Regions from separate parts of the Homo sapiens genome. Here all the other regions are linked to region 1. Evidence: promoter capture Hi-C in human tissues and cell types (Jung and others, 2019). All regions are on one chromosome and are shown on one strand. Each heading gives the region's core, a stretch centred on a gene start or on the middle of the fragment in contact. The rest is flanking DNA. Distances are from core to core; before and after follow the strand shown. Region 1 holds the start of PTN (pleiotrophin). Region 2 overlaps DGKI (diacylglycerol kinase iota). Region 3 overlaps PTN (pleiotrophin).

Region 1 (3,048 bases), core at 386-2,885:
GAACACCTCAATCAAGCCAGCATTGTTCACCTAACTGGTAGCTAGCTGTATGTTACATTTGTATATGTTAACATAAAGCTGAAGAACAGAAAGAAAATGGATAGCTCTTTGTTCAATGCCTTAGAAACTTTGCCCCTATGGAGTGTTAATAGAATGCTGAGATATCTTTTTTGGTAAAGGGACTGGGAAAAATGCCAAAAAAAAATGCTAATGTGCGTTTCTCCACACTTTATACAGGTGAAATCTGATTAAAACAAGCACTGCTTGCTTCACACAGAAGTGGAATCACAAAAGGAAAACAGGTAACCTGAAGCCTGTGTGTAGGAGAAAGGAACACAGCTTCCTTATTTAGTTATTTCATTTGAGAATTGTATGTGGTATGTATATGAAGAGTTTGGGAAGGGGGATAAATTGTAGGTGTGTAAGTGCATCTCTGATGCCTTTCCTTTTGAAAAGCTTGATTGACTGCTTGATTGAGTTTGTAGAGCCACGTCTGGCTCCAGTCAACTTCTCCAAGGGACATTTCTACAGGTAGCTGTCAATAGAAGAGCCCCAAGTCCCTAAAAACTACTTGCCACAAGACAATGCTTCTAATTTGGGGATTTAAGGATAGTTCTAAGTAAACAAATTGCTTAATAAATATTTGTCAAATTGAAATGAAGGGATGTAACCTCAGAATTATGAAAAATGTGGTCTATTTTACAACCAATTTGGGAAGGACGCCATCAAATGATAAGCTGACCAGTAAAGGTAAAAGTAGGTAAAAGGAGCTAGCCACGGAGCAGGAAAAGCTGATAAGTGGCAGAAAATCTCGAAATTTACATTTCGAAAATGTTTGGGTGAATTTGTATAATACATCTTAATCCTTTTACACAATACTTTTATCTCATCTTTATCATAAATATTTACCTATGCATTGCCTTAGCGTCTTTCCTGTATTGAATGAAATGACAATTCCAGAGACGCAAAGCCCAGCCTCCAAGTTTTACAAACCTCAGAGTTTGAGCTACTTTGACGAATCCTCTAAATTCTTGGGTGTCAAAGGCATGTTACTAAATAGGTTGCTAAAGGCACCAAGGAAACCAAAAAAGGAAAGAGCTCTCCCTAAAGGTAAGTAGCACTTAATTGGGAACTTTGAGACGTCTGTCACTCTTTGTGACAATTGAGAAAAAGTACTTTGTACATTTTGTGCTTTGCAGGTGAGATGTGACTGACACCTTACTGTCTCTGTGTTTAGAGAGGGCTTTCGTGGGTGGAAGAAGAGGCTGGTTTGAAGAGAGTGCTTTTCCATTCTGAATATCATTAAAGGATTGTGGGGGGCCAAAAATGTAACCTAAAATGCCATCAATTGTCCATTTAAAATATCCTATTTGGCAAAGTGGCTTTGCACTCATCTGAAGAATAGATCATGGGTGGAGTTTGGAAAAGAAATGTTGTGTTTCGTCTCTGCTAAAAACAAAACAAGGTACCATCTCATGGCCTCTTGGTTCAAATCCGTTTTCTTGCTCCGCAGGGAGAGACTGCCCCTGGAGTATTCTGCTTTTAATAAGCTTCCCAATCAGCTCTCGAGTGCAAAGCGCTCTCCCTCCCTCGCCCAGCCTTCGTCCTCCTGGCCCGCTCCTCTCATCCCTCCCATTCTCCATTTCCCTTCCGTTCCCTCCCTGTCAGGGCGTAATTGAGTCAAAGGCAGGATCAGGTTCCCCGCCTTCCAGTCCAAAAATCCCGCCAAGAGAGCCCCAGAGCAGAGGAAAATCCAAAGTGGAGAGAGGGGAAGAAAGAGACCAGTGAGTCATCCGTCCAGAAGGCGGGGAGAGCAGCAGCGGCCCAAGCAGGAGCTGCAGCGAGCCGGGTACCTGGACTCAGCGGTAGCAACCTCGCCCCTTGCAACAAAGGCAGACTGAGCGCCAGAGAGGACGTTTCCAACTCAAAGTAAGTGAGAGGAACGTACGATTTCTCGGAGGGCTCTTCGATCGAGTTTGCCTTCACCCTGTGCCACTTTTCTGGGTGCCAGCAGATGATGGTGGTAGGGGTGAGAGAGGCTGCCTGGTGTCTTTGCTGATAGGACTGCTTTCAAAACTGACTTGCTCCAGAGGCCAAGGGAGGCATATTTTTGGGGTTTCAGGTTAGGTTAGTTCGGGTGTGCTTAGGTAAGTGAAAGGAAAGAAGTTTTTGTGATGTTAAGCATGTATTTGGACCGTGTTCCAGCTACCAGCTGGAGAGCAAGACAGGGTGGGCTGGAGAGTGCATCTTTGCTTTTTGTAAAACCTGGAGCTTTAGTAGGTGTGTCTCTGGCTGGGTAGGTGCAAAGAAAGTAAGGCAGCCTGAACAAGCAGCTCTCATTTTCCCAGCCTCTCTCTGATTCTCTGATTGCCCCAGAGCCTGTCAGCCCATGACTCTTAGCTGGCATTTCTAGGTAAGCTGTGGGGGCTTGTTCCTCCCAGTGCTAGCTGACATGAAACGTCTCTCACGGAACTACTGGCACCCGTCTTCCCACCTGACAGCCCAGGAATGGTTCCAGAAATGGTTAGGTCCAAAGTTTAGAAGACACACCTGGAGTCCCATCTCTCATTTGAATGCAAATTTAAAGAACTGCCCAGTACATAGACCCTTAAACTTTTAATTTGACCCACATAAATTTAGGATATATTTGTTACTAATTTACTAGATATTTAGAGTTTCTGAGTTGTTGTTTCTAATAAGTTAAGAAAACATTTTTTGAGAGGAATGTATTCAACTCCTTTCTTAATAGATGGAAAGTGAAACCTCCTCTCTCCTCTCCATACACACACACCCCTTTCTCCATGACATAATGTGACACAACACACACACACACACACACAGGAACACACACATGCAGTTTATATACACTCTAGTGTTAACTCACCCTTGTGTCTGTTAAGAGCTGCTTTGTAAGTTTGGGGACACATTCAGAAAATAGGAGGGGTAGGGGTGCTAAGAGGAGAAAATATTAAAGCTGCGGTCCTTGAGCATCTCTCATTTTAAGAGTTATCAGGCATTTTGCTTTAGCAGCTTGAGAAAGGGGTGATG
Region 2 (2,785 bases), core at 12-2,511, 40 kb before region 1:
TGTTGAATGGCAGGATTTTATTTTAAAAACTCATGAAAATCTTGATTTTTGATTTGTTAAACTTTGCTTTATAACTGAGAATTTTAAAAATATCTAGGGGAATGGCCGTTAGTTATCATTTAAAAAATTTTAAACTAAGCATGAATTTAAGAGCTAGTCAAAAGAAAACATACTAAAAGGTGTAATTTAATTAAAAATACTTCTGGAAGCTTATAAATTTTGATCAGTATTCTTAGTCATTGTCAAGTAAAATTCTATTAGAAATCTGTCTTACTGTCCATCCAATATAAAAAAGTGCTGTGGTTTGATATTCTAAGAGTTAAGTGTAATCTAGTATAACCACAGAAGAAAATTCTGCCTGTAAGGTATTTGGGAGCCAAGTAAATGTACATGAAAGGCAATCATGGAAAACTCTTTGGCTTCTGCCACCAGCGTGGCAACCACAAGGGAGGTCCTACCCATGGAAATAAGAAAATAGTGATCCAAGTTTTCACCCAACTTTTGAAATTTCAATATTTTGAGCCAAATGCCTTCTGAAATGGGAGGCTTTGATAGTGGGAAATACTGAAATTATCTTTTCCCTCAGACCTTTAGTGAAACACACATATAGTTTTCACTCTATGACAGTATAAACAACTCAAATCTATACTGTTTGTTAAGAACAGTTTCAAGAATTAAAAAGTGCTTTAGCGTTATGATGTATTGACATGTTTGAGCTTCAGTTGGGGTTCAAAACAACCCCAACGAGGTGAATAATGCATATAATACATTTTAGATGAATGCACTGAATCTCAGAGCAGTGAATTCAGCCTGTGCAGATTCATATAGCAAATGATAGTGCTGCAGCCAGAACTGGGTCTTTAGAAATTACATATTAACATGTTTTCTAAGTAAGTCATTTTCCATCATTGCCTTCAAGGATGTTTTATATCAATTGTTCAGATTTCCATAATATAGAAGTTGCCTCCATGAAAAAAAAATGTTTACCTAAGTTTCCACGGAAAGAATGAGTTAGAAATAAGGGAGAATGTGAAATCAAAAAGTCAGAGTTTTTGCTGTCGGAGAGAGGCTTGTCAGCTTGTACATAGTTCAAGCAAAGAAAAGTCTAATGTTTGCATACCAGGGTGGATTTCAAGAGAAGAAATTAACAGTGAGCGTTAATGGCTTCTTTAACTTATTTGTGATTCTCAGCATTTAAAAAATGTTAGTCCTATTTTTCTTCCTTTGAAGTCACTATTAGGATGATATAATTTCTGAATGCTGCAACAAAAAATGTTAAAAATGGCCCTGACATCCAAGACTCTATTGCTCTAAGTTTATGGGTGGGTATGCAAGCTAAGTGTTATGATAATACATAGTCATATACATAGAGGTTTAATACACCTATGGGAAATTCCGGCATATTTGAAGTAGAGAAAAACAAACAGGCTTGAAATGTCCTTCAGTTCAGAATCTCATACTTTACAAGGGACATTTATGGGCAGATTGGTGAATATGTAGAAGGAGGATGTTTGATCTGGAAAGAAGACAAAATTGGATTAGGAATAAGAATATGTAGAGGAGTTAGGTTAAGTAGGACTGTTAGTTTCAAATTCTGCAGGGAAGATGATTTGTAGAATAAAATAAGGAAAGAAAAGAGCAGTAACACATGAAAAGGAGTTAGCTTTATTACTTATAAGGATTTATTTTTCCTAAACATTGCATCCAGAAAAACAGTTTGGGCTTTCTGAAAAACAGTGAAGTTGTTATCACTGTTTCTTCTAGTAGTTAAGTGAAGATTGAACAACTAACTCAGAGATCAAAGGCATATCTTTAATTGTGAGAGATCTTGGACTAGAAAAACTCTGTGAGATTTTCTTGGTTTAAATGTCTATAATTTTAGACTGGAACAGAACTCAATTTGAGCCTATTTTTTTCCCCCAGGTTCCTGCCAACTAGATAGCAATGAAGGCATTTTTTAAAAAAGCTTCCATCATTGCAAATATATCCCAAATCACTTAGCAGCGGGGATTTCATGACCCTAAAAAGTTGCCTTGCTTACACAAACACACCTATGCTTTAGTAGAAACATATCTTTTTTAGGAGATTTGGGAATTGGCTAGCATTTTTGCCAATTGTTAGCCAATTTAGGAGATTTGGAAATTGGCTAGCAATTTTGCCAATTGTTAGCCAATTCCCAAATCTCCTAAAAAAGATATGTTTCTACTAAAGCAAAAAGGTCACAGATTCAGGAGTCAAAGTGAAAACAAAGGATTTAGTGTTCTTTCCCCTACTTACTACCCATTTGTTGTTTGGGATGTAGAGTCAGGACTGGAGAAGAGGGTGGGAAATTCTATATCCTCTGCCAATACAGAGGCATGGAGGCACTTTCTATAACTTTGTGTCATGAAACAAGACTTAACCCCATATCAGTAGACTAATGTTTCTGTCATATTTCTGTCTAGGTGGATTACAGTTTTAATTGCCCATCATCCCTTAATTCTGTAATACAGCTTGAGTTCCTAGATTTCAGGTTGACTGGGTGAGGGAGGAAGTCACTTGAGGTAATTTTAAGAAATGAATCCATATCCAGAGTCTTGCAGAAAAGACCTGCTTCTACTCCACCTTCTTTCTTGTTCTACTTCTTGCCTCTGGTTTGGGGGCATAAAAGAGGGGCAGAGTTGTGAGGAAAGGAAAAAAGATTCTCAAAAGTAGTACAATAAGAAGACCCTAGTAGTAACACAAATTCTCATGGTAATCTCAAACAACTGATAGTGTTAGCAGATATTGAAAATCAAACTCAGGA
Region 3 (2,933 bases), core at 296-2,795, 45 kb after region 1:
AATTAAGTTCATTTGAAATAGCTGATGAATTTTTATGCTTCTCAAATTACGCTGCTAGAATCAACCACCTGTACCTTAGGCCCTAAGGCCACTCTGATGGTCACAAAATTCTGAGTCAAATGGGGTAAAAGATATAAAAATGTTTAAATTGTGAATTTTAATGTAATATCAATGTTCTATCCATCTACCTGTTCATGTATTTATCATCTATCTACCCACCGAGAAAGAAAGATTAGTGTTGTAAAGAGAGAAGTGACATTGCTCCCATGGCGGGCAGCCACTTCATCTTGGGCTTTTCTTCCTCATGTGCTTAGCCCAAAGACTTGGGATGAAAGGCCATAGGCTTTCCGTGAAAGAATTTTAAACCTAGACCCAATGAAGGGGACTTTTGAGTATTTGGCATGTATGAGGATTTGGGTCTTCCCTGGCCTTTTGAATGAGTAATGCCTCTTACCTGGGGGCTACCATGATTCTAGGGTCAGGACAGGGTCTCTGGCAAAAGAGTCAGATCTTAATTCTTTAGGGCTGATTCTCAAGCACAGAAACAAAAACCGGGAGTGTACAATCAGAAGAGACAAAGATGTTTGTCTCTTTCACAAGGGCAGGCATAGGGGTGAGGAGTCAGGAAACGGTCTCTCTTGAAAGTTAAAGCTTACACATTTGATGGAAGTGTGTCTTTCATACCAGAGCATGGTTTTTAGCACTTTCTGCCTCCTCTTTGGAAATAACTGCCCCTCATATTTGGTGGTGTCATGAGGAAAGCTTCTTTTTATTCTGCACTGTGCCATTAAATGGTCTCAGAGGGGCGTACCATGGGGACCTTATGGGGAGTAGTGCAGCACTGCCTACTTTAAGCCCTAGCTCTGTTCCTTATGAACCTGGCCTAATGACTGGATCTTTCTAAAACTCAGTTTCCCCATTTGTAAAATGGGGACTAACGGTCATCCCCTAATGGACTTATAGTAAAATTAACTGAGATACAAGCATATAAAACATTTAGTATTATGCCTAGAGCCCAAAGGAATAACCACCACCATTGACAACAACAAAATCCAGTTAATGTTAGCTGTGATAGTTGAGAGTTTTGTTGTAGTTAGACAACATTCATTTTAGGCACTGGATGACTAAAGGACGTGACCTCGGGAACTACCAAAGGCTGGAGGTAGGGCTAGGCATATTAGTGTTGAACAGTATTCTGGCTGTGAATGCAATGTGCCCATGGAAACGTAGCATGGGTCCATAGAGGAAGTGTGTAGGAATGCTCAGTGCAATTTTTCATTAAACCCCAGGGGTAACGAATATTTTCTTTGCTATCGGTACTTAATAAAACACTCTTTAGAGTGTTCAATTGCTCCCAATTACTCCAAAGCTCACCAAGTCTTACCTGGAACTGATTCTCACAATGAGTCTAGCCCCGGCTTGGTGCTATTAACCAGGCCTAAAGACATGTAATTTCTCTGAATCCCTGGCTATATTATAGATCTTGCTCCATTTCTTTGCTCGCAAGTTGAATTTTGGATAAGAAACCAAAACAGTTACTGTTTTTGAAATTCCTGGCAGGAAACCCTAACCCCTGTTGAGAGGTGATGCCAAGAGCAAAGGGAGTTGACAGAGTTGGATGCTTCCTTCTATTTTGGGCAGGAAGGCAGGAAATAGTCCTGCTTTACAATAATTATAGGCAACAGAGCTAGGAATAAAGTAGAGCCTCTATGGAAACAGTCTGTTCTCAATACGGTGTGCTGAGCCACCAAGAGTGTGCACAGAATTTTGACCAGATCTCACTGTGTCTCAGTGACTAGCCACCCAGTGCCCATGCATTTTTTGACATGAATTATAAGAGGTTTATAATGCTTTAGTTATTTTTATGTTAAAACCTGTGGAAGGATCATAAAATTTGAAAAAAAATAAATTTCCACATTAGAGAAACTACTACACTAAATAGCTTGGAGTCATTTTTCTGTTTAATATTTAATCAGAAACTCAGTAAACTTTTGGACAGTTTCAGGTCAATATTTGGCTAAGTTAAAAGAAAAAGAAAATCTAAAGCATATTTACCGAACTAATGAATACAGATTTGAGGATTAGTTCAATCAAAATTTAATCAAAATTTGGATTAACACAAACCTCAGGACTGTCAAAAATTCAAGATTAGAAACAATAATGTTTTTATACTTAAGAATCCTTACAGGCTCTTAAAGTTGCGTGTGGATCTATATTTTATCAATTCTTGCTCCTTAATCCTTGACCCAGGTACTTTATGTTGGAACTCAGTAGGACAGCTTCTGGTCTCTGTTCTTGCAGAGTGAGCTATTTCTGACACGTGAACAATAAGAGTTAGATGTGGAACAAGCTTGTGACAGGGTTAGTGAGTGCAGACGGTAAACGACACCTGGAAACATTCCCCATTCCTGCCCACTTTGGAAAGCTTCTAGCCCCTTGGATATCTTCTTGATCTAACTTATCAGCTCTTCTGGATATCTTCTATTTGCACCTCCAGCTCTACTCTCCTACCTCCTTTATTCTGCTCTATCAGGAGGCTGACCTTCATGGAAAAATCAATAGATTCGTTTGCCGTCTGCCTTCTGCTTTGCTTTGGCCAATGGAGGAACTGTCGGGAATTCAAAGTGTTGGATAAGAATGCGCCTGGGCTATTTATTTCTCTCCCTCATTGCCTGTTTTGTTGTTGTTGTTGTGTGTATTTAGAGGTTGTTCCTCAGGCTGCTCTCTCCTTCTCTCTGTAGATTCTGACAATGACCCCTTCTAGTTTCCACCTCAGATCCAAAGGTGGTAAATCTTTTTTTGTTGCTCATCTCAGTATGTTCCAACATCTCTCCTTGGTATTCCTTAACTCAGCTCATGCAATTTTAAATAATGCATTCATGAAATTATCCTCAATGCATCCACTTGAGTATGCCATCTACCTCTTGCTGGGA

The links. The method cuts DNA at HindIII sites, captures the fragments that hold promoters and counts their contacts. A contact is called where the count stands out against the background at its distance.
Region 2: a fragment that was not itself captured here is called in contact with the fragment with the promoter of PTN in region 1 in 2 of the 25 tissues and cell types used here (hippocampus and mesenchymal stem cells).
Region 3: a fragment that was not itself captured here is called in contact with the fragment with the promoter of PTN in region 1 in 8 of the 25 tissues and cell types used here (H1 embryonic stem cells, adrenal gland, bladder and 5 more).

Annotation. Positions count from the first base shown.
Region 1 is chr7:137,342,320-137,345,367 of GRCh38, reverse strand. PTN (pleiotrophin) reads left to right here and starts at 1,635. Exons shown (of 5, transcript NM_002825.7): 1 at 1,635-1,929. RefSeq lists a cis regulatory region at 1,083-1,092 and promoters at 1,096-1,841, 1-1,841. The HindIII fragment of the contact is 6,839 bases long and covers 1-3,048 here.
Region 2 is chr7:137,382,596-137,385,380 of GRCh38, reverse strand. It overlaps DGKI (diacylglycerol kinase iota), which reads left to right. Exons shown (of 33, transcript NM_001321708.2): 33 at 1-2,785. Among named protein-coding and RNA genes, the nearest start is that of PTN, 40 kb to the right of the region's middle. The HindIII fragment of the contact is 5,211 bases long and covers 1-2,785 here.
Region 3 is chr7:137,297,386-137,300,318 of GRCh38, reverse strand. All of the region lies in intron 1 of PTN (pleiotrophin), which reads left to right. Among named protein-coding and RNA genes, the nearest start is that of PTN, 45 kb to the left of the region's middle. The HindIII fragment of the contact is 3,750 bases long and covers 1-2,933 here.